Linked DNA regions of Homo sapiens: region 2 is linked to region 1. The links are contacts of gene promoters, found by promoter capture Hi-C in human tissues and cell types (Jung and others, 2019). All regions are on one chromosome and are shown on one strand. Each heading gives the region's core, a stretch centred on a gene start or on the middle of the fragment in contact. The rest is flanking DNA. Distances are from core to core; before and after follow the strand shown.

Region 1 (4,136 bases), core at 835-3,334:
CCTGGGCCCCTGTGGAGGGGAGGCGGCAGGTGGAGGCCCCTTGAGAATCCCAGTAGCGCCCTTCCTAGGAGCAGCTCCTGCAGCACTAGATTCAAGGGCCTGTAGCGGTAGCCGGGGCGGGGCGCGGGGGAGGTAGGGCAGCAGGAAAGCGGGGCACCAGGGAAGAGGGGCGACAGGGAGGCGGGGCGTGGGGGAGGAGGGGTGAAGATGACGGGAGGCGGTGCACGGGGGAGGCGGGGCACAGGAGAGGCGGGTCGACAGGGAGGTGGGACGCTGGGGAGAAGGGGCGAATGGGGGCGGGGCGATGGGGAGGCGGGGCGACGGGAAGTAGGGGCAGTGGGGGAGGCGGGGCATGGGGTAGACAGGTGTGGGGGAGGCGGGGCACCAGGGAAGCGGGGCGTGGGGGGAGGCGGGGCGTGAGAGAGGCGGGGCAGTGGGGGAGGCGGGGCGTGGGGGGAGGCGGGGCAGTGGGGGAGGCGGGGCAGTGGGGGAGGCGGGGCGTGGGGGGAGGCGGGGCAGTGGGGGAGGCGGGGCAGTGGGGGAGGCGGGGCAGTGGGGGAGGCGGGGCGTGGGGGAGGCGGGCCGAGGGCGAGAGGGCGCAGGGAGGCGGGTGGGGGTGGGGCCACGCGCGGAGGGGCAGGGAAGGGCGGGGCGGGGCGGGGCGGGACGGGGCTGGGGGGGACAGGCATCAGGTATGAAGAGTTTGGGGCTGGCGGGGCGTGTCCGGCTGTGGCGTGGGCACCACTATGGGAGACCCTGGCTTGGCAAGTGACCTTGCAGCCTTGGCTGGGGAAGGGCTAGATGCTGGGTGGGTGCCGGTAGAGTGGAAAGAATGACAGGTTCAGGTGAATTAAGGAAGGATGGTTGACTCGGTGGCTGGGACATTAGAGACAGGTATTCCCAGCCTCAGGCGCTGTCCTAAGCCCAGCAGGTACTGACCCTTGATGGTCACCTCACCCTATGAGGGAGCTGAGGCCTGGGGAACCCAAGGGGCTAGTCCAGAACCCACAGCCGGGGGAAGGAGGAACCGGGTCTTAAACCCAGGTAGCTCACTCCAGAACCAACTCAACCTCTGTTACAGGTGGCCGGCCAGAAAATGCCCCACCCCACCCATTGACAGTCGGGGAAACTGAGGCCTCAGTAGGTGAAGTGCCTGGCCCAAGCACCAAGGCACACAGAGACGCTCAGGCTTGACCCTGGCTCCGGACGTCCAGCCCCTGCCGCTGCCCCACCCCTCTGCTGCCCTTGGGAGAGGGGCAGCTCAGAGCCTCGACTCTGCACTCTGCATCAGCACCCCCCAAGGGCTTGGGTGGGGTCTTGAGAGGAGGGGGTGGCCTCAGGGAGCGACCTGGGCTTTCCAAGCCTCTCCCAGAGCAGCCCGTCTCTCACACAAGGCCAGAAGGCAGGTGGGTGCTGATGGCTTTCCCAGCAAGAGACCGAGGGGGCGGGCCCCCAAGAGCTCCAGAAAGCTCTCCACCGGACACCAGCAGGAACAGCACTGCAGATGGAGCAGCAGGGGCAAAGACCCGAGGTGATAGTGAGGGGCAGCCGGGAGGCCTTGGGCCTAGCAGTGCATTGCTGAGTGTGGGTGAGGAGGAGGTGAGCACGCAGCCTTAGCTTGAGGGCATTGACTGTGTTTTTACTTAAATGCTCTTAAAGGGGCCTGGGTGTGATGCTGACTCTAGGATGACGATGCTTGGCCAGTGACCAGCAAATAGAGGGTCTGTGACCCCAAGGTCCTGTGACTATGGAGCCCAGACATGGGGTTGAGGGGTGTCAGGCATGGCCCATTCCGGGGCGAGGCTCCCTGCCCTGCACTGCAGGGCTGAGGCACTGAGCGGCAAGCCAGGCGAGGGCCAGCACCACCTTCCACCTGCCGTGGCACGGGTGCACAGGACGTTCCAAGGCCAACCACAATGACTTCTCCTTCCCCTCTGGCCCCAGATGTCCTGGAGGGAAACAACAGTCCCTGGCCTGGCGCCTGGAGCTGGGGACCAGTGTGAGGCCCATTGTTTGAGGCTGGAGCTGGTGGGGGCCACTAGGAAGCCCACGGCAATGCCCTTCATCCCACTTACCGCAGCTCCAGAGCCCTGCGGGAGGACTCAGAGTCAGGGACACAGCAGCGTCCGGCGAGATGAAGGCGCTCGGGGCTGTCCTGCTTGCCCTCTTGCTGTTCGGGCGGCCAGGTGCGGGGCAAAGGGTAACCCTGCGGTGAGGGGGCAGCAACAGCAGTCCTGGAGCACAGGGACCTCCAGGGACCCCCAGCAGGGGCTTAGGAAGAAGGAGGGGATGAGGCTGGAGTCCCCAGCCCAGAGCAGCATGGATGGAAGCTGGCCTGGGTCCCCGAGAGTCCCCAAATATCTGCGCCCCTGTTTATGTGGGGTGCGGGGAGGGGCTACCATAAAGGGCCAGCCCACAGCAGCTGCTGTTGTAACTACAATGCCAGGGCACACTCGGCTGCAGGACAGTGAGTAGGGTGAGTAGGGTAGTAGGACAGTGAGTAGGGTGAGTAGGCTGCAGGACAGTGAGTAGGGTGAGTAGGGTGTTCAGGGTAGGGGCCCTCCCCAGCCACCCTGGGGCCCGAGGATGGCTGGGGAGGGCCAAGGAGTTGGGGGCACGATGCTTGCCCAGAGCAGGTGTCCTCCATACCCGGGTAGCTGAGGCTTACAAGCATCCCTGCACGGCCAGGGAGAGGGCAGACACAGCAGGAGGAAGAGGAAGAGGACGAGGACCACGGGCCAGATGACTACGACGAGGAAGATGAGGATGAGGTGGAAGAGGAGGAGACCAACAGGCTCCCTGGTGGCAGGAGCAGAGGTATGGCCGCCCCAACCCCAGAGCCCTGCTGCCTGATCTGCCTGGAGCATTCTGGGCGGGGCTGTGTGATGGAAGCCAGCAGGCCACAGTCCTGCTGTGAGCTTGCCTCCAGCAGAGTGGGGGACACTCAGTACACCCCTCACTGCTGCTCACCATGACACTCAGTTGCCTTCCAGAGTAGGGAACAGGGGAAGAAGCCACCAGCTGGGAGGGTCAGTGGTGCCAGGATGTAGAGGTTAAATAGGAGTTCACCAGGCAGAGAAGGGCTCAGTGGGGGCCTAGGGTGGAGACACAAGCACAGAGGCCCCAGGGTAGGGTTCAGTTTTGTGGGGCAGAGAGAGCAGCAGGGTGGGCCGGTCCTGTACAGGGGAGGGCTGGATTGGCTGCTGCGGGCTGGGGAGCCAGGGAACCGCTTAGAGCAGAGCAGAGTAGGGCTAAGAAGAGCCCACCCTCACTGCCCACCTGACACACCCCTACACGTGGGCCACCCTCTGCTCTCTCCCATCCCGAGAAAAGCAGAGCAAATCGCCGCATCCAACCCGAGGGCCGGCCCCTCCCTAGCCAGGGACCACAGCGTGCCCCACCACACACAGCCCCTCCCTAGCCAGGGCCCCCAGCATGCCCCACCACACACAGCCCACCCCCCTCCCAGGAGCCCCAAGCCTGCCCTCAGCACGAGCCCTGCCCCACACACCCACGAGGTGTCCCCTGTGAGGCCCTCCTCTGCCAGGCCTGGTGCTCCTGGAGGCAGGACTGAGTCAGACCCACCTCCAGGTTTCTGTGACCACGGCAGGAGCCTGGGCAGCATTGTCGCAGGACGTGAGTGATGATGGGAAGTTCGCCCTGCCTGACCCGCAATCCCTTGCCCCCTAAACACACAGGCTCACGCACACAGCACAGCTTACAGGACCAAGTCAGGGGTCGCCCGCCCATCTGAGCAGTGGGTGCTGGAGGCTCACCAGGCTAGGCTTTGGGAGCACAGCTGAGAACGGGGAGGTGGACAGGGACGTGGGAGGAGACCCTGGGGGGCCCGGCCTCGGCCTGAGCCCGCCTTGTCCCCAGTGCTGCTGCGGTGCTACACCTGCAAGTCCCTGCCCAGGGACGAGCGCTGCAACCTGACGCAGAACTGCTCACATGGCCAGACCTGCACAACCCTCATTGCCCACGGGAACACCGGTAAGTGGGCGTGGGGCCGCAGCACATGCACCCCCAGGCGGCGGGAAAGCCAGGGGCCCGGAACAGAGCCCTGCAGAGCCACCTCAGAGACCCCGCCCATCCTCAGCACTTGTTCCCCACTCCCCTTCCCAGAGTCAGGCCTC
Region 2 (3,783 bases), core at 230-2,729, 100 kb before region 1:
CTCAGGCTACGGTGAGTCAAGATGGCGGCTCCCTGCGCCGTCACCACCCAGGCCCAGGGCTTCTATTGCCATAGTGCAGGGGACATGCCTCAGAGGGGGTGGGCAGGAATTTCCCTAAGGCCAGGACTTGTGATAAGGATGTGCTCTTACACAAGGAACAACAGATGAACGGGAACTCTCAGAGGCATTCCCGGAACTGAGGTTAATCAGAAGCCAACACGACAAACTAGCGTCCAAGATGGAGCGGCTTCGGCCTCCATGATCCGCCCGCGCCGCCCCACTAATCCAGCTCTGACCGTCTCACCTGCCCTCCTCTTCCGCGATGGTCCCTGAGCCTTAGGGAGGGTGCTTGGGGTTGTCTGGCTTCAGCAGCGGTGCCTTGGCGTCGGAAAACAGGTCGGGCCCGGTGAGAGTCCCAGTGAGGGAGGGTCACCGGCTGTTGAATCATCTCTAGTCTTCAGGATACCACGACTTCTGTTTTCTCAGAGAAAATAAAACAACAAGAGATACATAACATTAATAATTTGCACACAAGGATGACAATCAAAAGGGAATTTGTATTTCAGAACAGTAACAAAAAAGAACCTATTTCATTAAGAAGCCGACTAAAAGCATCGTGAAGGAAACTAAAACCCGGTTTTTCTTTAGAGACTTGTAGCCAGTGAATGATTCAGGATTAGCCCAAATTGTAAGCAAATAATAACTCAAAAACAACGGTCAGAGCTAGGATCTAAATTTTTCTCTCTCTAGTTTCCCCATTTCTACCAAGGATAAATCATAGTAGGACCAGTTTATTTGCAAAATAAATTTCGGTCTCATTATACTTGGCCTATTTGCATGAAGCGTGGCAAGAATAGTTACCAGCCCTAGAGGCTTTTTTTTTTTTTTTTTTTCCCTGTGACAGGGGCTTGCTCTGTCAGCCATGCTGGAGTACAATGGTGCAATCAGAGCTCACTGCAGCCTCAGCCTCTCAGGCTCAAACACTCCTCCTGCCTCAGCCTCCCGAGTAGCTGGGACCCTTGGCACACCCCACCACACCCAGCTCATTTTTTATGTTTTGTAGAGACAGGGTCTCAGCATGTTGCCTAAGCTGGTCGGCTCTTTTTAAGTTGGCTTTGCTGGAACTTTTTTAGGGAATTTTGGACTCAACTTATTAAAAGCCTCAAGGGTAGGAAGCCAAGCGAAGGATTCACTGAATGAAATTGAAGTATTTTACCGCAAATTGTGTTTCTTTGCCATGTCTTGAAATAGCCTTGCAAAGCTTTCTCTTGTGGGGAAAAGCTGCATTCTGAAGAGAATCCTTTTCCTTTTTCAGGACTTTTCCCTGATTCAAGAGAGAATCAACTCTGGTAAGAAACATTTACAATCTGTTCTCTCTGAAGCTACCTGGAGGCTTTCTCTGTGTAATAGGAACTTGGTCACCACAATCCCTCATTAACCCAGACATTCCTTCTTTTGATTCCAGGTCTTTAGATAGTAACTCCTTCAACCAATTGCCAATCAGTAAATCTTTGAATCTACCTATGACCTGGAAGTCCCTGTTTCAAGTTGTCCCACCTTTCCTGATCGAACAAATGTATGTCTTCCCTGTATTGATTGGTGTCTCATGGCTCCCTAAAATTTATAAAACCAAGTTGTGGCCCAAACACCTTGGGCACTTGTTCTCACGGTCTCCTGAGGCCGTGTCATGGGCCACAGTCTCTCATATTTGGCTCAGAATAAATCTCTTCCAATATTTTACAGTTTGACTCTTTTCGTTGATTTTTTCATGCCTTTACTTTTGCAGTAGTAGGTAGGGGTTTCCCCAGTCCACGTACAATATCCATTTTCCATTTTCCTTTTTTTTTTTTTTCCTGAGTCTCTATTGCCCAGGCTGGAGTGCAATGGCACAATCTCGGCTCACTGCAGCCTCTGCCTCTTGGGTTCAAGCAATTCTCCTGCCTCAGCCTCCCCAATAGCTGGGACTACAGGTGCATGCCACCATGCCCGGCTAATTTTTGTATTTTTAGTATAGATGGGGTTTCATCATGTTGGTCAGGGTGGTCTTGAACTCCTAACCCCAAGTGATCCGCCCACCTCGGCCTCCCAAAGTGCTAGGATTACAGGTGTGAACCACTGTACCAGCTTCAATATCCATTTTCATAAAGCATTTAGGTAAAGGATATGTAATGCCTTACATAAAGCCTGTTTAAACATCTCGGCTTTCATAACTCTATCACACAAGTCGACTTTCATAACTCGACGTCTTTCTGTTCTGCTCCCAGGAACTTCTTTTTCCCACCTCCAGACCATTTTACCCTCTCTTGTGAAAAAGGATGTGGGTGCCCCACAGGGGCTTGATCCAAGGGACCCTGGCCCTTCTGTCAATCTTATCTTGATTAACCCACCTCAACATTGGCCCCCGCAATTGTTGGTCAGTTTGCTCAGTGTAACTTTTGCCTTCCAATTTTTATAGTTAGAGTGCCTTCTCCAATCTGGCAAAAACTGTTTTGGAGCTCTTTACTGTTGAGGGACCAGCGGGGGCTCCCTTTGTTCACCCAACTTTCGATAGTGTTGTATTAAGACCTTTGTGAATAACCCCCCATTATTCATTCCATTGCTTAACAACCATGTACAGATTCCACCCCGCTAGGATGCACCCCATGACTCTCTCCTTTCCTTTTTCCTCTTGGTTTCACCCCATCCACTTTTTACCTTTTTTTTGAGATGGAGTCTTACTCTGCCACCCAGGCTGGAGTGCAGTGGCAGTCTTGACTCACTGCAATTCTCCTCCCTCAGTCTCCTGAGTAGCTGGGATTACAGGTGCGCGCCACCACACCTGGCTAATTTTTGTATTTTTAGTAGAGATGAGGTTTCGCCATGTTGGCCAGGCCAGTCTCGAACTCCTGATCTCAGGTGGTCTGCCCACCTCTGCCCCTCAAAGTGCTGAGATTACAGGCGTGAGCCACCAGGCCTGGCCCATTTTTTACCTATTTAAAACTAATCGTTTAAAAATTTTCCCCTTCCTAGGATGAGTCCTTGGACTCCCTTTTGCCTTTCCCAATAATTTTATTAATTAGCCTAAAGTTTTTATAAGCATCTGGATGACCCATGAGGGGAAGTTGAGACCCAATGAGGTGCCCAGGCCAATGGGCCCCCTTAACCACAGCATTTACCATGATCTGGGCATACTCAGCCGTGAATATCCCGGTCATCATAAAGTCAGTCCCACATGGCTTGCTTACGAAGCACATCAGCTGCTTCATCGGGGGTGCTCCACTTGGCGTTTATGGGGAAAGTTGGGTGGTCCCCTTCTCTTACAGTGCCTTTTATCCAGCCCACCAGGCTGGCCGTTCCCTCAGGAATAATCTGTGCGTCTGGATCACACACACTCATCTGCCATTGTTCAGCAGTGAGCTGTGGGTCTCACATCAGCCCACACGTGCTCTTCCATTCTGCTGCACTTGTGACCAGCAGAAGGGTGAGGCTGCTCACCACTTGTAGAAAGAAGCCAAAATAATAATGAGGTGTGATAGAAAGAGAGTGAGACTTTATTATCCGTACCAGCAAAGGGATGAGCACAAAGCAATTCCACTCTTCCATTTGTGGAGGGAACGCAGGGGATTTTAAAGAGAGGGTTTGGAATGCAGAAGAGGCAGGTGATGAGGAGGTGTCGGGTGGCAGGAACCAGTCCCATGGCTCATCTCGAATTATTGTTCCATCTGGTGAAGGGGCCAGGGCCATCGTGGCTGGAAGTGTCTGGTCCATAGCAGGATCCGGCCCCTGAAACTTCTAAGGAAATAC

The links. The method cuts DNA at HindIII sites, captures the fragments that hold promoters and counts their contacts. A contact is called where the count stands out against the background at its distance.
Region 2: a fragment that was not itself captured here is called in contact with the fragment with the promoter of GPIHBP1 in region 1 in 3 of the 25 tissues and cell types used here (H1 embryonic stem cells, lymphoblastoid cells and mesendoderm cells).

The regions. Positions count from the first base shown.
Region 1 is chr8:143,211,134-143,215,269 of GRCh38, forward strand. GPIHBP1 (glycosylphosphatidylinositol anchored high density lipoprotein binding protein 1) reads left to right here and starts at 2,085. Exons shown (of 4, transcript NM_178172.6): 1 at 2,085-2,186; 2 at 2,689-2,817; 3 at 3,880-3,993; 4 at 4,126-4,136. The coding sequence starts at 2,135. The HindIII fragment of the contact is 48,923 bases long and covers 1-4,136 here.
Region 2 is chr8:143,108,681-143,112,463 of GRCh38, forward strand. No RefSeq gene overlaps it. Among named protein-coding and RNA genes, the nearest start is that of LY6L, 30 kb to the left of the region's middle. The HindIII fragment of the contact is 5,687 bases long and covers 1-3,783 here.